7 separate regions of the Homo sapiens genome follow, and all the other regions are linked to region 4. The links are contacts of gene promoters, found by promoter capture Hi-C in blood cells and fetal thymus (Javierre and others, 2016). All regions are on one chromosome and are shown on one strand. Each heading gives the region's core, a stretch centred on a gene start or on the middle of the fragment in contact. The rest is flanking DNA. Distances are from core to core; before and after follow the strand shown. Region 1 overlaps FAM241A (family with sequence similarity 241 member A). Region 2 overlaps LINC02945 (long intergenic non-protein coding RNA 2945). Region 3 has its middle 7.0 kb from the start of LINC02945. Region 4 holds the start of NEUROG2 (neurogenin 2). Region 5 overlaps LINC02945 (long intergenic non-protein coding RNA 2945). Region 6 overlaps AP1AR (adaptor related protein complex 1 associated regulatory protein). Region 7 overlaps LINC02945 (long intergenic non-protein coding RNA 2945).

Region 1 (2,700 bases), core at 189-2,688, 330 kb before region 4:
GGAAGAGGAAAGAAGACTGGATGCTAAGTAATGTCCACAACAGAAATACTGCTAATCCCATAAAAATATGTACATTGTTTTCAGATTACTGTAGTAAATAATATTTTGGAAAATAGTGCCCATCTTTGGTTTGGCCAAAAAAAAAAAGGAGCAAAGTAGAAAATCTATCAAATACTTCTCTAATGCCTGCCAGAAAAATACATGATAATTTCTTCCTGTTTATTCAACAAATATTTATTGAGATGTTTCTATATGCTGCTATTTTCAGGACATAGCGTTTGCTACATATTCATATCAGAGGATATCAGTGGCCAGCAAAAATAAATACTGTTCCTAGTTCATGAAGTTTATAGTACAGGTAGACATTAATCAAATAATGACACACATTGGCATTGAGTCAGAATGCATTGAAAGAGCATTACCTGATGCTGTGAGACTGAGTTGAAGCTTAAGCTAAGACCAAAAGGAGAGGATGCCTTAACTAAGCAAAGGAGAGAGGAAATAGTTTTTTGAGCAGAGAAAAGAGCACGTGCAAATCCCTGTGGCGAGCAAGAGCTGAAAGACCTCTGTGGCTGAAATAAAGACAGGAAGGCTGATGACAGAATGAGGCCAGAGACCCAGATAGAAGCCAGACTAAGCAGGGCCTCATAGATCATGTTAAAGATTTTGGCCTTAATCCTAAAAGCAGGATGGAGGTGGCATGATTGAATTTGCACTTGGAAAGAACCACTGTGGCTACATTGTGGTATATAGATTATAGGGGAGCTAATGGACTTGTGCAGTAGCAGTGTTAGGAAACTATTGGAATAGTCAAGAGATCTTAGTAGACTCTTAGGATTATAGCAGTAGATGGAATAGTATATACACTTTAAAGAAATACTTAGAAGGTAAAACAAAGAGAATATGGTGATGAGCTGGATGTGGGTCATGGGGAAGAGGGAGAGGGAGGGGGTCAAGAATGCCTTAGAGTTCTGACCTTTGGATGTGGCATATGGATGGTGGTACCATTCACTGACCTAGGGAGCATCAAGAGAGCCCTCGTCCTCACAAATCAGCCAGATGGTTTAAATTTTATTGTAAACAAGAACTTCTAAAAATAATTGAATCGGATGACCTTTTGATAGCTGCATGAGACAATCCAGAAAAAGCAATATGTTGTTACTTGTAGTAGTTTTGTGACACCACATGCATTTCATTGTATCTCATAACTCAAGTCATAATATAGTCCTTTCTTAATACAATTTACCCACTTGCAATATATTTGTAATAAGTTAATTCTACTTAATTATCTCAGCTTGTCAATGTTGTAAACTTAAAAAAAAAAAAATAGAAATGCACCAGTTGGTGGAAAGAAGGGAGGGATCAAACTCATCGACTATAACCGTGCAGGCCTTTACCTCAACTTATTTCAAGTATCTCTTATTCCTACAGTGAAGTGCTGGTGCTGGCTCCTACCAATCGTCAAAGAGCAAGTTGTTAAATTTTCAGGAACTTTTTGAGCTGGCTGTTAATAGTTTGAAATTGGCCACAGTGGAAGTACTAACACTACAGAAATTGGAAATCACAACAGAATTGGCAAACGCTGTAAAATAGAGCTTCCCCCAACCCCCAACAAAGCCCATTGTTAAACATTTACCAACACACCAGTCTTTGTATCCTTTAGAACTGTGTTATTTGAGAGGATATCCTAGATACATAAAATACTGTAATGAGATTGACTATAATCTCACTGATTGAAGAATATTGATCATTTTCCTTTTCCACGTTCTTTTTTTTTTTTTCTTTTGCCTGCCTGGAAACTGACACCCTTTCCACATTCTTAAATGTCTTCCTTTAGGGTTGTTTGAACCCCCTATCCAATTCATTGCTGGATATATTTGATGTTTCTACAGAACTTCATTTGTGAAGATATGTTACTTTTAGGCATTAGCCTAGTGATTTTTTTTTAAACTTTTTTCTTCTTCATCAGATTACCCAGATTAAGAAGTATTTCAGTAAGGTGGCAAAGTTTTAGAAATTACTGAATCTGGTTGATACGTATATAGGTTTATTATACTATTTTCTCTAGTTTTGTGTGTGCTTAAATTTTTTTATAATTAAAAAAAAAGAAGAAGAAGCAGGCTGCAACAGCCACAGCTTGCCCAGACCTGTCCTTACTGGGTCTTCAGCTTCCAGTCTCAATCCCACCAGCTGATCTCAAGATCTGAGATAATGTGAGCATTGCTGTCTCCTCGCCTGGCCTGATTTACTAACTCTCTGTTTTGATTTAAGTGTTGCAACACCTCCTTCTTCCCCTGAAAAACCCACAAGCATTTGTAGATTTAATTTATTTTACAAAGAATTTAAACCTTCAGACAGTACCTACCACATCCAGATTAGGGTACTTTCTTCGTACTAAAACCACAAAAATACTGAAAAAAAAAGTCTTAAAAAGCTTCAGTAACAACAAAAAAAACCCCAAAGTACAATGAGTGCATAGATTACAAGAAATTGGGAAGAGTAAAAAAAAAAATTTTTTTAAGAACTTTAATAAAAAATGAAGAAAAAAAGGCCAGAAACAGTATCAACATGCTGAACACTGGAGAAATAGAGAGGGATGAGGGATCAGCAGAATTACATACTAAATCGAGGACTCTTCAAGTTCTACCCTAAAGAAAAGAAAGCTTTAATATTAGGCAAGAATAAGGGTTTTTTTAAAAT
Region 2 (2,700 bases), core at 121-2,620, 460 kb before region 4:
GGGAACATAAGATCTTATTTGTCTGGGATAAATGCCCAGGAGCACAATCGCTGGGTCGTGTAGTAGTTGCAAGTTTAGTGTTTTTAAGAAACTGCCAAATTGTTTTCCAAAGTGGCTGTACATTTTACGTTCCCACTAGTAATGTACAAATGATCCAGTTTCTCCACATTCTGGCCAGCATTTGGTGAATCCTTGTATTTTTTAGTGTCAGCAACTTGTTAGTGCAGAAATATTCAGACAAGGTATTTGTGTAAGTAATTGCATTTCCTTATGAAGTGATATGTTCAATTATATATAAGTAAAAGATGGACAGTTACAAAAAATTAACAATAAAAATTGAAAGAAATAAAATCGAACCAATATAAATTAGATGACAACTACATATCCTGTATTTACTTCTAATACAATTTTTATGAGTCAATGACTTATCTCTCATTGAAAACAAAATACTCTTGACAAGCTCATCTTCAACCACATCTTAAATTTACAGCTTTATCAACATCTTTTTTGGTCAAAAGAAATCAACCTATCAGCATAAATATATGGTCAAAAACAGGGTGCTATCACATGCATTCACTTTATTTTCTTTTCTCTTCTTTCATTTTCATTTTCTTTCTTTTCTTGCATATTTACTTGCTCTCTGCTTCAGATTATTCATCAAAGCCAGTTGTAACCCTTCAAACACAATTGTCCGCGGAAGTGTTGCTAATCATTTGAAAAAGCTCAGGAAAAAAAAAATGTTGTAATTCACCTAGACTCAACTCACTACCTTAAGAAATCCATGGGATTATATGCCTATTCAGTTATTGAGGGAGTTAAATCCAGGCTTAGGTATAATAAAAGCTTGCTAAAATGCCTTTTGTCCTCTTACTGGAATACACATTCTTACATGCAAAACTGAGGAGCAGGAAGCAATTGCAGGAAGAGGAAAGATAGCAATACAAAGTGAGAATAACCAGAACTTGTTCTCTTGTGTTTTGAGTTAGCCTTTGCTTTCCATACCTTGAGAAGCATCAAATTAAAAGAATGTGACTCAAGACCACAAAAAAAGTAACCTCATAGATTTACAGGCCTGCACAGAAGTTCATGTAGTTGCACAGCTCCAAGCAGAAGGTTTATGTTCATTTAAGAGTGGAAAATTTTCAAGTTCTTCCAGAAGCACCATCTGTTTCTACTGGCTCGTCATGGTTTGAATTATTTATTACAATAACCTCAGATTTATTGGGTTAACCTTTGGATTGACTCCTAAAATTAACTATTGAATATTTATTATTTTTTCAGTAGGATAGTAGAATACAAAAATTAATTTTACCCTAGTATTGAAAGCACCTTAAGGTCTTTATCATAACCAAAATGACAGAAGGAATTATATTGTTTATCGCGTCTAATAGGTTTGATCCCTACAGCTATGTAATTGGTCCACTAGATGATGCTATGGTGGTTAAAATTTTTAAAAGATGATCTGTGCAAATTTCAAACAACTACAAAAATGTTTTTAAAATTTTTTAAACATAGTTTTAAAAATAGTTAACATAGGATACCTGCCTTATCAATCTGTTAATGAGAAATGGAAAAAACACAGAGTTCCTAAAACTAAAGCCAGGACTTAAAAGCTGACAAACAGCTTTCTATGAATCTTCATGATCTGGTAAGTCTCAATATCTTAAGAAAAATATAAGTGACTTTTTAGAAGCAAAGTTAATGATAAACTGCATGCTATGAAAGAATTAAATACAGAAACATTGGGGAAAAAGCATTTCCAAAGAAGGCAGAGATATAAAGTTAAATTAATTTTAGTGAGAGGTTTTTTTTTTAATGGGGGAGGAAGAAAACACAATTTTTTTTGCATATTTAAGAATTCCGTTTAAACCTTGTTTGATTTTTTAGACTGGCACAAAAAGCTTCCAGTTAAAAATAGACAAATTTAGAAAAATCAGTTAAGGACCTAATTACCACACCAAATTGAGTAGTCAATTTCCACCTTCTTGAACTAAGCAGCAATTCTTGCTACCTTCAGGCCATTAACACCACTAAACCAATTCCACTGCATTTTCTCAAGCTTTGGCTTCAGGGCAGCTCCTAATTGGCTGATGGCATTAGAGAGCATTGGGTGCTACAGGGCTACAGTTCCTTCTAAAGGAAGGTATCAGTTCTTCATTCTTTATTTCTTGTGCTTTTGTCAAGGCTTTTTTTGTTTTGTTTTGTTTTGGTTTGGTTTAAGCTTTTCACCCACTCATACTTAATAATAAGTTTTTGCTATTTAGGACCAGCAAAAACTAAGGAGCAATTATTCTCCATTTTTCTTTGTTTTAAAGTGTCACTTTAGTGAATATTAGCCATTTGAAAAAAGTGTAGATAAATATTTAAGTTTGCTAGTACAAAGTTACTCATAAAAAAAATAGAAAGGAGTCCTAGCAGCTTCTGAAAACACAGAATGCAACCTGGAAGAGATGGCCAAGTCCCACAAAATCAATTTTTTTCTTAATGGGAAACATTTCAAAGTATGAGTGATATGTAACTTATCTAAGTGTTTTGAATCTTTGAATCTTAATCATTTGAATTTTTATGAAGTAGAGTCCTTAAAGGAAAGCATACCATACTTAACTCCTAAAAGACCTCTTTCTGATTAAACTATAGTATCAATTATAGCTCTTTATATCAACTATTATGACATTGCCATCTTGAAATTCTGTATTACTG
Region 3 (2,700 bases), core at 142-2,641, 400 kb before region 4:
CTGGCTAACATGGTGAAACCTCATCTCTACTAAAAAATACAAAAATTAGCCAGGTGTGGTGGCACATGCCTGTAGTCCCAGCTACTCCAGAGGCTGAGGCAGGAGAATCGCTTGAACCCAGGAGGCAGAGGTTGCTGTGAGCTGAGATTGTGCCACTGCACTCCAGCCTGGGCAACAGAGTAAGACTCTGTTCCAAAAAAAAAGTCTATACGTATCTTTTGCCTCTCTCTCTATATATATACATACATATATATATACACACACATATATATACACATACACACACACACACACACACACATATATATTTGTTTCATTTTGTTTTGTTTTTTGTTTTTTTTTTTAAGAGACATGAGGTCTTGCTCTGTTACCCAGGCTGATCTCAAACTCCTGGGCCCCAGCAATTCTCCCACCTTAGCCTCCCAAAGTGCTGGGATTACAGGCATGAGCTACCACACCCAGCTCTTTTCCCTATTTTTTAGTTGGATAGTTTATCTTCTAGTTATTGAGTTATAAATATCCCTTATGTAGTCTGGATGCAAATAGTTTACCAGATATAGTACTTGCAAATATGTTCTTCCAATTTGTGGCTTGTCTTTTTATTTTTTTAAGACTCTCAGGTTTTGAAATCAGAAAAAAATATAATGGGCTCAATATTATGTGAAAAATTATACTTAATCTCCTAATAATTTTATTCTTTTAAATCTTTAAACACAATACAGACAGAATTTGGAAACTGGAATTACAATTTACTTCCTAGAGGATGAATTATAACACAGGAAAAGCCTTTTATTATAATATATTTTGACATGAGATTAGTGGTTTACAGCTAACTGGCTGAGGAAGAAGAGTCCTGATTTGTAGCATTTTCAATTTCCATGGTATAAATACTCCCCCAGGGACAATTTTAAGGCACTAATGGTTTAACAACCAACTCAAAAAGTTTCTGAACATTTAGCTCTTGACCCTAGAGAGCCAGAAAGAACCAGCTCTAGCATACTACTAAAAATCCATGATTGAAGTGGTAGTAAAAGTCTTAAAGATAAACAAAAGAAGAAGGAAGGGAAGGGATGGGGGAAGGGGGAAGGGAAAAGGAAAGGGAAGGGAAGGGAAGAGGAAAGGGAAGGGAAGGGAGAAGGAAACAGGAGAGGAGGGGAGGGGACGGGAGAGGAGAGGGGAGGGAAGAGGGGAGGAGAGGGGAGAGGAGAGGGGAGAGGGGAGGGGAGGGTAGAGGAGAGGAGGGGAGGAGAGGGGAGGAGAGGGGAGGGGAGAGAAGAGAGGGGAGGGGAGGGGAGGGGAGAGGAGAGGAGAGGAGAGGAGGAAAGAGAGAAGAGAGAAGAGAGAAAAGAAGAGGACACCTGCTTTGGAGGAATTTGCAGATTACCAAGAAAGATATCACTGATCCTTTACATGAAAATGAAAGGAAAATTAGTTTTTAAAAAACCAAGTCAACAGATTATAAAAACACATAAATAAGAAGCTCTACAAAGAATGAAAATGAAAATAAAATCATTCTCTGGAGCAGAAAATGGAAACTATTTTATAACTGTGGTATCACTATCACTAATCCAGGAAACCCACTGAAGGGACTGTGGTGACTATAAGGAGTTCGTTCCATGTTGTTTGTGTGGTGCTGACCGTTCCCATTCACCTCCGGCAGCTAACACACAAGTCTGGCCTATCCCCCTTAAACCTAATATTGGTTCAAGAAAGAGCACATGGACCAATCCCTCCAAAGCCCTCCCTGGAGCTTTTTCTGGAAGAAACAAGAGATCAGTAGGCATTAAGATTATGTAGGCCTGGAGTTGCAGTCTACTCAAGTGATGACTCACTCTTCCCCCACTATTTAGCAGCCATGGGTTTTGGGAGGTGTATTAGTCCATTTTTATGCTGCTGATAAAGACATACCTGAGACTGGGCAATTTACAAAAAAGACATGTAATGGACATACAGTTCCACATGGCTGGGGAAGCCTCACAATCATAGCAGAAGGCAAGGAGGAGCAAGTCACGTCTTACATGGATGGCGGCAGGCAAAAAAGAGAGCTTGTGTAAGGAAACTCCCATTTTTAAAACCATCAGACCTTGTGAGACTCATTCACTACCATGAGAACAGTGCAGGAAAGACCTGCCCCCATAATTCAATCACCTCCCACCGGGTTCCTCCTGTGACATGTGGGAATTGTGGGAGTTGCAATTCAAGATGAGATTTGGGTGGGGACACAGCCAAACATATCATAAGGCATTAAAAAACAATTATACTATCTCCTTCTACAGTGCAAGTCACTCCCCCTAGCTACAGTGATTGGTCCAGAAGTAAGCTAATCAAGGCAAACCACAAGCCTTTCAATCAACCCTTCAGGAACTACATGTTCTCTTCCCCAGGAAATGACCCCCTGGCCTAGCCTGAGGATAAACATAACACATGGGGGATGGCAAGGCCCACAGAATCCCAGAGAAAGATTGATGAGGCCACTCTTGAAGATGGTTCTACATCTTCACTATTTAATTCGCAAACAAATAAATCTCTTTTGTTTAGCCAGTTTAAATTCCATTTTATACTGCAACAAAAGCATTCTATTGGGTTCAATAATCTTTCTACCCTTGTTTTTTTGGTTGTTGTTAACTCTTCTGTCATTTGACAGTGTCAAAACTTTGTAATTTTGTGCTCTTGGCCTTCAACTGTTCACGCATCTTCTTT
Region 4 (2,700 bases), core at 85-2,584:
GGGCGAGGGGCTGTCTCCGCTGCTGCTCAGGGCGGCGCTGGCTCCTCCCGGGCTCAGCAACACTGCCTCGGAGAAGAGCGCCCCCGGCAGGCCCCCGCCGCCGCCCCCGCAGTGATCCGCCAGGCGCAGGGTCTCGGTGAGTGCCCAGATGTAGTTGTGGGCGAAGCGCAGGGTCTCGATCTTGGTGAGCTTGGCGTCCTCGGGGAACGTGGGGAGCACCTCGCGCAGCGCGTCCAGTGCCGCGTTGAGGTTGTGCATGCGGTTTCGCTCGCGGTTGTTGGCCTTCAGTCTACGGGTCTTCTTGATGCGCTGCACCGTCTCGGCCGTCTTGGCGCCTCGGGAGACGGCCCGCGCCCGGGAAGGGCGCCGTTTGCAATCGTGTACCAGACCCAGCAGCCGTGCGGGCCGGCAGCCCTCCGCACCCGCAGCCACGCCGCCCCGCGCCCCCTGCCCGGCCTCAGCCCCGCGCTGCCGACGCGCCCCGCCTGACGCGCCCGGCTCCTCCTCCTCTTCTTCGTCGGCGCTGGATGACAGCGGGGTCAGGGCCGCCAAGGCGGGGGAGGCCGATCCGAGCAGCACTAACACGTCCTCTTCCTCCTTCAACTCCAAGGTCTCGGATTTGACGAACATCCTACCGAAGAGAGAAAGGGGAAAAAGGCAGTGAGGTGTAAGGAAAGAAACAGAGGCGCGATCTTCGTGTCACAGGGGCGTGCTCCGGCGCGCACCCGAGAAGACCAGCTCCGAATGGCGCGGAGCAGGAAGGCGAAGGAAGAAACCCAGGCAGTGCTAACCAAGGTCAGGAGCGCCGCTAGCGCTCGCTGTGACCCTGCTGCCAGTCAGCCGGGTCCTGCCCTCCGCGGGCGGTCCTGCGTTCCCTCCCCGAGAAGGGACTGCGGCCTCCGCGACAAAGATTCTGCGCGGAGCAGAGGGCGTGCGGGTGTGGTTGGACTGAGTGCGGGGAAACCACCTGCGTAGTTGGAAGCGGTGGCTCGAATACTTACTTAGTTGGCTCTAACTGTGCCTCAGCGTTGCTGTGACTTTGGCCTGTGCCGGGAATCTCCGCGCAGCTGCGAGCGCAGCGCCGGGTCCTTCGCCCGGCGTGAAAGCTGCAAGCCCGGCGCTACTGTGGCGCAGCTCCGCGGGGGACCTCTGCGACCGGCGAGTTTGCCAAGAGCCCCGGCGGCGGCGGCGGCGGCCCGCCCGGGTCTCGTGTGTTGTGGTGGTGGTGCGTGTCTGTCTGTCAGTCAGTCCCTGGCCGTGCGGCTCCTGGCACGCGACTCCCAGGCACTCCAGTTAACGCGAAGCTGCTTGTGGTTCAGTGGCTGCGTGTCTGGCACACGACTCTCCTTAAAACCCCTTATATACCACCAAGAAAACAATCAGATCTGCCCCGGGCCCCCTCCTCCCCCGCCACCGCCTCCTCCTCCTGTCAGTCCTGCCCCCCTTCTCCCCCGCTTTTCCCTCCTCTGGCTTATTCTTTTCATTGCATTATCATCATTCATTTCTTCCTCTTTCTTCACCGCCTTTCCCCCTCCCTTGGCCCTGCCATCCATCCTCCTCCTCCCACCACCCCCGCCTCTCTTTTCCCCCTTTATCTAATCAACATAAAATGGTTCTAAAGCTCCTGTTGGAGCTCCGGGCTGCGGCCGGAGCTGGCGAAGCCGCAGCGGCCGCAGAGGCTCAAGCTGCGGCTGTTGTCGCCGCCGCTGTCCATTGTGATTGGTGGCTCGCGCTCGGCTGGAGCGTGCCGCTAATTTATTAATGAATGGAGGTCGCGAGGCGCAGCTGGCCAATCAGGGCGCCCTGGACTCCGGGAGGCCTGCGAGCCACGCGCACCGGAGCCCGCTCCCTTTCAGCAGCTCATTAGGGGCCCGAGCGCTGGGGGCGGATGGGGGGACCCGTGCTACCGCCCCCGCCTTCGTCCTCGCTGCCGCCGAGGCTCCCCCCGCCCGGCGCGCGCGCAGGCACCGCACCCGGCGCTGCCGGCCCTCCTAACTCCCGGGTGATGGGAACTAGGAATTAGTTAATGGGGGTCAGAATCCCGGGGAAAGCAGTTAGCCCTGTGGTGCTGCCGGGCGTCTCTTGGCAAAGCCTCTTAGGGGTTGTATCAAATAGTAAACGATTTTAAAATGGATTCATTTGGTTAGGGGAGGAGAATGGCGTGGATGGAGAGATGTGGACACCTCGTGAACAAGTGTGTTTGGGGTCCGTCGAAACTGGCGTGGGAGAGTGAAGGGAGAGGACACTGGGGATTCAAACAGGCGTCTCTTGGGAGGGGAGGTCGGATAGGGGAGCAGTTGATGAGCTTTTAGAGGATGTGAGAATGAAATCACTCACATGTTAGAGCTGAAAGGATCCCCCTCATTTTACATACAGGAAACTGAGGCTCCGGGCACTGATGCAGGTTTTGCTGGGGTTAACCCAGTTTATAGCCTGGAGGGACAGCAAGGAGGCTTCCTGCGTGGGTGGCAGCGAACCGAGCGGGAGGAGCGGCAGAGCTGCTGCTCCTGCAAGCAAATGCGCTGCGCTGACATTTCTGTGACCTCTGCTCCGCGCTGGGGGGCGTTGTAGGGACAAGGGGCCCATCTTCCCAATTCTGCTTTTCAATGAGAAAAAAGAGCTGAAGGGCTACTGGACCTCGGGGGAAACTTGTTCTCAATTGCTCGTTAGCCCTCCCCACTTTCCCCACGTTCATGCCCA
Region 5 (2,733 bases), core at 162-2,661, 490 kb before region 4:
TGCTGATCAGAGAGGCCTTCAGAGAAGAACTGATGTTTGAACTGAGTTTCATAAGGTGAGTAGAAGCTCACTAAGAGGACTGAGAAGAGTAAGGGTGTTTAAGGTGAAGGGAAATGAAAATCATGTGCAATATCACAGAAGTGTGAACTTTGTTGTTTTATTTAGGAAATTTTAGATAGTTCTAAAAGGCCAAGATGAGATTGGCTAGGTAAGAAGAAATCAGATAATAAATAGCCTTAAATGGCCAGCAAGGCATTTGGCCATTGTTCTACAGGTAAATGGAAAATGCTGATGAAATTTAAGTAGGGAAGTGACATAATCATGTTTATAGAGTTAAAAGATTACTCTTGAGACAATGCAGAGGATAGACAAGACTGAAGACTGGGAGAAGATTTAGAAGGCAGCTGAGATTGTACAAAAACAAGATTACAAGGGTATTAAGGCAATACACATAAGAAATAAGAGCTTTAGGTAACAGATTCTGAAGGACTTTGTAATTAACTGACAGCAGAAGTGAAGAGGCAGGAAGATTATTGGATGCTTGGACTGATACACTTTAAAATAGAGAATTCAAGATGAGATCATGGATGTGTTGAATTTGAAGGTACTATGGATACTAAGAAACACTCAAATGAAAAATGACCAATAATCATACAAAAATAAGGACCGTGAATTCAGGAGGGAGGTCTAAAATGGAAATGTGTGTTTGGGAGTCATCAGTGTGATGTGGCAGTGGAAACATTTGATATCAATGAAGATACATTGCTTGAGAAGAGAAGAACTTGAGCAAGAACAATATTGCTTAGTGTGCAATGCCAAGCGGTATTATGGAACCCATAAGCATTTCTGAATGTCAGATTTGAGGATTGTGATCCAAACAGGCAGTTATTGTGGTCAGATACATCAGAAGTGACTATAATCAAGAGATGACAGTGAATCGGTAAGGAAAAGAGACCCTCTTGCTATCTGTCAAAGGAGGAGGGAGAGAACTTTAAAATATAATGAATATAATAGTGTGAGTTAGAAGATCTAGGTGTAAATCTCAATTTGTTCCTCACTGGCAATTTGACCTTGGGCACAGAGGAAACGGATCTTAAAAGAAAAAGAAGAATCATATGCAGAAAGAAACAATAACAAGAAATTGAAAGAAAACACTGCCTGTATTTCCAACTTGTTCTCAATTTCTGATCTTTCTTAGAATTTCTTCATTCTTTTGTTTGATTTTAATTAAATATCATTCTAATTTATAATAGAGTTCTTTTTTCCTACTAGTCCAGAGTGAATTGACTTGTTTCTTGCAGCAATATCCTAATATATGGATGCAACATCTTTTTAGAAAGAGAAATTTTCTTTTCTCCTGCATGAATGTGTGGTTTGTCTTAGTCCAAGTCTGCTCTTTTGGATTCATGGCAAGAGAAAAAGAAATGTGAAGAGGAAAAGAGATGGAAAAATGAACCCCTACTGGTAGCAGAAATGGTTAATTACTGTATTAGTCTGTTTTCACTCTGCTGATAGAGACTGGGTAATTTATTAAAAAAATAAAAATAAAAGAGGTTTAATGGACTCACAGTTCCACCTGGCTGGGGAAGCCTCACAATCATGGTAGAAGGCAAAAGACACATCTTACATGGTGGCAAACAAGAGAAAGAATGAGAACCAAGCGAAAGGGGTTTCCTCTTATAAAACCATCAGATCTCTTGAGACTTGTTCACTAGAACAGTATAGGGGAAACCACCCCCATGATTCAATTATTTCCCACCGGGTCCCCTCCACAACATGTGGGAATTATGGGAGCTACAATTCAAGATGAGATTTGGGTGCAGACACAGACAAACAATATCAGTTACCATCCCCATATCTATTACTCCTTTTTTCTCAATGGGAAAACCCACAATTTTAATTGCTAATTGGTTGAAAGCACTTGTCAGTCTCCCTTGCAGCTAGGCATGACATGTGTCTAAGTTCTGGCTGATAAGATAAAGTCAAAGGTGACATGGGGCATCCTAGAAGACTGTTGAAAGAACACTAACTCACATTTGAAAAACAAAACAGAACACCTGTTTGTCGTTTCTCCCTTCCTCCTACCTGCATTCCAGAATGCTGATGGGAGGGTAGAATTTCCAACAGCCATTTTGGACCAAGAGGTAACCTTGAGAATGAAAGCCATTCATAGAATGGCGAAATACAATAGCAGAAGGAGCCCAGGTCTCTGTTGACCATAGAGTCCCCATAAAAGTCCTAGACTCTCTTATCTGTGTTTCTCTCACAGATAACAAGACAGAAGAGAAATAAACTTCTATCTCATTTAAGGTATTTGGGGTTTGCTCTATATGCAGCTAGTAGAAAAATTATATTGCAGCAGATACTAGAGAAAATTGATATGCCTTTGTATAATCTATACAACTCTCATTCCTAATATTTCTATTGTATTTATCAGTTCTAAAACTGAAAAATTATTTAAGAATTCATCTTCCTTATATTTATTTTCAGAAATCAGAATGATGTGGCAGAAAAAAAATCAGCCTGAAAATTAAGAAAACTATATTTTGATTCTAAATAGTTATATTACTTTATTAAGTAATAACACTTCAAGTGCTTTTTCATCTTTAACATAAGAGATTTGAACCAGATAAACTCTAAGGTCTTTTCAGTTGCAAAACTCTTCTGTTTCTATATTTCTTGCTTTCTTCATGGGATTATTGAAAAGACCCAAATGTATAATTTTTATTTAGC
Region 6 (2,700 bases), core at 109-2,608, 260 kb before region 4:
ATTCCTATTTGACTACATATAAGTTTAATAGGAGCAGGAAAGAATGATTAAAATAAAGTCAATATTTGGCCCTAGTTGGAAAAAATAATGTAATGGATTGTTTGATTGACATGTATATGCATTGTTTTTCTCTTTTATTTGTGAGGGCATGGGAAGATAACAAAAGTCTTGAATAAAGACACGTGATTCCACCACCAAAGATAACTACTCTTAGCATATTGACATATATACTTTTAGATACTTAATGTTCTGTGTATTTTTAACAAAATTGAGAACATATTCTTTTTATATATTATTTAACACATCAGTATTTTTTAACGAGGTACTTTTCTTGATGTAGTAAAAATAATGAGATACATTTTAAAATGTATTCTACTCAATGTAGTAAATATAGTAAATTAATTATTACAGATTTAGTAAGTGTTAGTGCCAATAGAAAGAAATATTGATTGACTAAACAAAGTCATAATGAAGTTTAAAAATCTGGACTTTTTATAGTCTTAGGTAAATTTTGTTGTTCTTTTTTTATAAATATAACTATATGTTAGAGATTTTAAAGTTGCTCTTGAGGAAATAAATGTTTTTATGCTATATATTAATTCAATCTTAGAGTTAATTGTGTTTTTTAAAGTTATTCTGTTTTCCTTCCCAGATCCAAGTATTTTAGAACATGCTCAAGAGGTGAGCACTTAACAATAGAGGTAAGTAGTCCTTAATTTGATTGAATTAAAAATGCCTTCAGAAAGGCGGAAGGGGCTTTTTGTTGTAAAGAGGGAAAGATCTGGACCCAAATTTAGAATGGACTGTTTATATTTCAATATTATTCATGTTAGTGAAGATTGAAAGAGTTGGAGCAGTGAGGGAAGGAATGAGTAGGAAGAAGTTTGCAGAGGATTATGGTTCTGTTTTTCTAATAGCTTTTTCCCCCACCCTATAAGTCAGGGAGAAGGTACTCTTCTGTCAGTAATAGTGGCTCACTAGGGTATAACGAGAGGTGGTTGGCCTGCCCCAGCAGGGGGGAGTCCAGAAACAAAGCAGGAAGTTGAGTTTAAGCAACTCCACAGCAGAATGACCGAGTCACTTTTTCTTTGAATGTAAAATATAATAATAGAAACTACCATTTATTCCTTACCTACTATAAACTAGCCACTCCACCATACAAATTAAGAATGTCATCACAACTCTCTTGTAAACAGGTGGTGGTCACCCTGTTTCATGGATGAAAAATCAGAGGCTTAGACAGGTGGAGAAATTGGGCTATATTACACAACCTATTAAGTGGCAAAACCTAAATTCTAGTCCAAACTGCCTGGCTTCAAAGCTGGAACACTGTACTTTATGGCCTTCTATATTAATAAGGAAATGTGTAAGGCAGGAATTAGATATTTAAAAATCACAAACTAATATAAAAAAAGATAAAGATAATAACTTTAACAGTTTTATTCTTTTTTCAGAGAGATTCCTTAATTTTCTAAACCTTTTGAATTCATTGTTTTCTCTCAATCTTTAAGCCAAACAGTATTAACAATAAAACACCTTTTATTTCAGGTGGTTACTTATCAAGTTATTTATATTTAAAATAAAAACACTTTAGTGATATAATAGTAATGACTTTTATTAGGTCACTGACATAATAGTGTTAAGCACATTATGATCAAACTGTTTACATTCCTATCTCTAGAAAGACATTGTATTTGGGGATAGTAACTACCACTTAGTAGATTTTCAGTAAATAACTATATGAATGAATAGACGGATAAATATAAACGTGGGGAAATTCTTATTTGGTATCTTTTAGTCCCCATTCCTTGAATAATTTTCCTTCTTACAACATTTGTTCTGTAGTCAAGTGAAGTGGAATATTCTGGTAGCATGGAATGAAATTACTTGTATGAAATATTCAATTCAGATGAAAGTTTTAGTTCTGATTTATGTAGAAAATTGCTATAATTCTCCTGTTTGATTTTCATTCATAGAAAGTCATAAATTAAAATAGTATATGCTTGTCTTGGCCATTTTGTAGGACTGTTAAATATATCAAATGAAATGATGTATTAAAGAGGCATTTGAATTAAATAGCTTACAAATATAAAGGTATATTATTTTTAAGTGAAAAAAGTAACATAATTTCTTGTGAGATGTATACCTAAGACAAATATTCCTCTTAACGCTTACTTTTTTGTCCTTTCAGTTTGAGAATCTAGTAGAAAGTGATGAAGTAAGTATTTCCATAATAGTACAAAACTTGTATTTGTTTTTCTCATTAATCGTCTCATTAGTTCTAACAATTACGTTTACAATTTTTATTATTTTTGTTTTAGAATTTTTATTTTCTGGTTTTTATTTTTACTTTTTAGTTCTTTATTATTTCCTTCTTTTACTAATTTATATTAGAAAATAATTCCGAATTTTTTTTTTTTCTTGAGACGGAGTCTCGCTCTGTCTCCCAGGCTGGAGTGCAGTGGCGGGATCTCGGCTCACTGCAAGCTCCGCCTCCCGGGTCACGCCATTCTCCTGCCTCAGCCTCCCAAGTAGCTGGGACTACAGGCGCCCGCCACTACGCCCGGCTAATTTTTTGTATTTTTAGTAGAGACGGGGTTTCACCATGTTAGCCAGGATGGTCTCGATCTCCTGACCTCGTGATCCGCCAGCCTCGGCCTCCCAAAGTGCTGGGATTTCAGGTGTGAGCCACCGCGCCCA
Region 7 (2,725 bases), core at 66-2,565, 420 kb before region 4:
TAAAAACTCTCAATAAATCAGGTATTGATGGGACGTATCTCAAAATAATAAGAGCTATCTATGACAAACCCACAGCCAATATCATACTGAATGGGCAAAAACTGGAAGCATTCCCTTTGAAAACTGGCACAAGACAGGGATGCCCTCTCTCACCACTCCTATTCAACATAGTGTTGGAAGTTCTGGCCAGGGCAATTAGGCAGGAGAAGGAAATAAAGGGTATTCAATTAGGAAAAGAGGAAGTCAAATTGTCCCTGTTTGCAGAAGACATGATTGTATATCTAGAAAACCCCATTGTCTCAGCCCAAAATCTCCTTAAGCTGATAAGCAACTTCAGCAAAGTCTCAGGATACAAAATCAATGCACAAAAATCACAAGCATTCTTATACACCAATAACAGACAAACAGAGAGCCAAATCATGAGTGAAATCCCATTCACAATTGCTTCAAAGAGAATAAAATACCTAGGAATCCAACTTACAAGGGATGTGAAGGACCTCTTCAAGGAGAACTACAAACCACTGCTCAAGGAAATAAAAGAGGATACAAACAAATGGAAGAACATTCCATGCTCATGGGTAGGAAGAATCAATATCGTGAAAATGGCCATACTGTCCAAGGTAATTTACAGATTCAATGCCATCCCCATAAAGCTACCAACGACTTTCTTCACAGAATTGGAAAAAACTACTTTAAAGTTCATATGGAACCAAAAAAGAGCCCGCATCACCAAGGCAATCCTAAGCCAAAAGAACAAAGCTGGAGGCATCACACTACCTGACTTCAAACTATACTACAAGGCTACAGTAACCAAAACAGCATGGTACTGGTACCAAAACAGAGATATAGATCAATGGAACAGAACAGAGCCCTCAGAAATAACGCCGCATATCTACAACTATCTGATCTTTGACAAACCTGAGAAAAACAAGCAATGGGGAAAGGATTCCCTATTGAATAAATGGTGCTGGGAAAACTGGCTAGCCTTATGGAGAAAGCTGAAACTGGATCCCTTCCTTACACCTTATACAAAAATCAATTCAAGATGGATTAAAGACTTAAACGTTAGACCTAAAACCATAAAAACCCTAGAAGAAAACCTAGGCATTACCATTCAGGACATAGGCATGGGCAAGGACTTCACGTCCAAAACACCAAAAGCAATGGCAACAAAAGCCAAAATTGACAAATGGGATCTAATTAAACTAAAGAGCTTCTGCACAGCAAAAGAAACTACCATCAGAGTGAACAGGCAACCTACAAAATGGGAGAAAATTTTCGCAACCTACTCATCTGACAAAGGGCTAATATCCAGAATCTACAATGAACACAAACAAATTTACAAGAAAAAAACAAACAACCCCATCAAAAAGTGGGCGAAGGACATGAGCAGACACTTCTCAAAAGAAGACATTTATGCAGCCAAAAAAACACATGAAAAAATGCTCATCATCACTGGCCATCAGAGAAATGCAAATCAAAACCACAATGAGATACCATCTCACACCAGTTACAATGGCGATGATTTAAAAGTCAGGAAACAACAGGTGCTGGAGAGGATGTGGAGAAATAGGAACACTTTTACACTGTTGGTGGGACTGTAAACTAGTTCAACCATTGTGGAAGTCAGTGTGGCGATTCCTCAGGGATCTAGAACTAGAAATACCATTTGACCCAGCCATCCCATTACTGGGTATATACCCAAAGGACTATAAATCATGCTGCTATAAAGACACATGCACACGTATGTTTATTGCGGCATTATTCACAATAGCAAAGACTTGGAACCAACCCAAATGTCCAACAATGATAGACTGGATTAAGAAAATGTGGCACATATACACCATGGAATACTATGCAGCCATAAAAAATGATGAGTTCATGTCCTTTGTAGGGACATGGATGAAATTGGAAATCATCATTCTCAGTAAACTATCTCAAGAACAAAAAACCAAACACAGCATATTCTCACTCATAGGTGGGAATTGAACAATGAGATCACATGGACACAGGAAGGGGAATATCACACTCTGGGGACTGTGGTGGGGTGGGGGGAGGGGGGAGGGATAGCATTAGGAGATATACCTAATGCTAGATGACGAGTTAGTGGGTGCAGCACACCAGCATGGCACATGTATACATATGTAACTAACCTGCACAATATGCACATGTACCCTAAAACTTAAAGTATATTAAAAAAATAAAAAAATTAAAATAAAAATAAAAAAATAAAAAAATAAAATAAAATAAAATTGCCCTTTTAAATCGTTAAATCAAGTTATGCTTCTACTGGTATGAGATAGTAGCCAACACTAGGTCCTCTTAGGAGCTGTGAGTAGTAATTGGCATTTATTCAACATTACCTCTGATGAGGTAGACTCCTGCATTACCTTCCTCTTTCATTATGGTCATCCTTCAGGGAAAGCAGTGCTGAGATAATAGCTTGTCCCTTCCTGAATGTTGATCCCAGAGCTCTCTTCCTGATACTCTGCATCTTTGGACTGCCTTCATGTTCTTGCATAAATGCATGTGGGCATATAGGATACCAAGTCATTGCTATCTAGAACCTGTGGTCTAAGTAGTAGTAGTTTAGTACAAATTTTACCAGAAAATCTGATGCTAGTTCCAGGTTGCACAGCTTTCTAAAAGCATATAGGCATGTGTGTTAGTCCATTTTCTATTGCTATAAAATAATACCTCAGACTGGGTAATTTATAAGGAAAAA

Evidence for each region. The method cuts DNA at HindIII sites, captures the fragments that hold promoters and counts their contacts. A CHiCAGO score of 5 or more calls a contact.
Region 1: a fragment that was not itself captured here is called in contact with the fragment with the promoter of NEUROG2 in region 4 in 4 of 17 cell types (neutrophils, fetal thymus, total B cells and 1 more); the score reaches 7.6 in neutrophils.
Region 2: a contact is called between a fragment that was not itself captured here and the fragment with the promoter of NEUROG2 in region 4, in 1 of 17 cell types (activated CD4 T cells). The highest score is 6.9, in activated CD4 T cells.
Region 3: a contact is called between a fragment that was not itself captured here and the fragment with the promoter of NEUROG2 in region 4, in 8 of 17 cell types (neutrophils, monocytes, naive CD8 T cells and 5 more). The highest score is 11.2, in neutrophils.
Region 5: a contact is called between a fragment that was not itself captured here and the fragment with the promoter of NEUROG2 in region 4, in 1 of 17 cell types (neutrophils). The highest score is 8.6, in neutrophils.
Region 6: a fragment that was not itself captured here is called in contact with the fragment with the promoter of NEUROG2 in region 4 in 5 of 17 cell types (activated CD4 T cells, total B cells, total CD4 T cells and 2 more); the score reaches 7.2 in activated CD4 T cells.
Region 7: a contact is called between a fragment that was not itself captured here and the fragment with the promoter of NEUROG2 in region 4, in 6 of 17 cell types (fetal thymus, activated CD4 T cells, total CD4 T cells and 3 more). The highest score is 9.2, in fetal thymus.

Annotation. Positions count from the first base shown.
Region 1 is chr4:112,181,191-112,183,890 of GRCh38, forward strand. All of the region lies in intron 1 of FAM241A (family with sequence similarity 241 member A), which reads left to right. Among named protein-coding and RNA genes, the nearest start is that of FAM241A, 37 kb to the left of the region's middle. The HindIII fragment of the contact is 1,987 bases long and covers 446-2,432 here.
Region 2 is chr4:112,053,209-112,055,908 of GRCh38, forward strand. All of the region lies in intron 1 of LINC02945 (long intergenic non-protein coding RNA 2945), which reads right to left. Among named protein-coding and RNA genes, the nearest start is that of LINC02945, 58 kb to the right of the region's middle. The HindIII fragment of the contact is 1,058 bases long and covers 842-1,899 here.
Region 3 is chr4:112,117,870-112,120,569 of GRCh38, forward strand. No RefSeq gene overlaps it. Among named protein-coding and RNA genes, the nearest start is that of LINC02945, 7.0 kb to the left of the region's middle. The HindIII fragment of the contact is 8,296 bases long and covers 1-2,700 here.
Region 4 is chr4:112,514,846-112,517,545 of GRCh38, forward strand. It overlaps NEUROG2 (neurogenin 2), which reads right to left and starts at 1,335. Exons shown (of 2, transcript NM_024019.4): 1 at 1,002-1,335; 2 at 1-631. The coding sequence starts at 630. NEUROG2-AS1 (NEUROG2 and ZGRF1 antisense RNA 1) reads left to right here and starts at 534. Exons shown (of 4, transcript NR_161159.1): 1 at 534-795. It overlaps LOC124900760 (a long non-coding RNA gene), which reads left to right and starts at 1,960. Exons shown (of 2, transcript XR_007058231.1): 1 at 1,960-2,194. RefSeq lists silencers at 1-166, 427-496, 1,817-2,096 and enhancers at 2,106-2,700, 2,237-2,336, 2,437-2,556. The HindIII fragment of the contact is 11,776 bases long and covers 1-2,700 here.
Region 5 is chr4:112,026,464-112,029,196 of GRCh38, forward strand. The region is part of intron 1 of LINC02945 (long intergenic non-protein coding RNA 2945); the gene reads right to left. Among named protein-coding and RNA genes, the nearest start is that of LINC02945, 84 kb to the right of the region's middle. The HindIII fragment of the contact is 6,342 bases long and covers 1-2,733 here.
Region 6 is chr4:112,252,556-112,255,255 of GRCh38, forward strand. It overlaps AP1AR (adaptor related protein complex 1 associated regulatory protein), which reads left to right. Exons shown (of 10, transcript NM_018569.6): 2 at 653-701; 3 at 2,192-2,218. Among named protein-coding and RNA genes, the nearest start is that of AP1AR-DT, 22 kb to the left of the region's middle. The HindIII fragment of the contact is 6,257 bases long and covers 1-2,700 here.
Region 7 is chr4:112,090,295-112,093,019 of GRCh38, forward strand. All of the region lies in intron 1 of LINC02945 (long intergenic non-protein coding RNA 2945), which reads right to left. Among named protein-coding and RNA genes, the nearest start is that of LINC02945, 21 kb to the right of the region's middle. The HindIII fragment of the contact is 2,975 bases long and covers 1-2,725 here.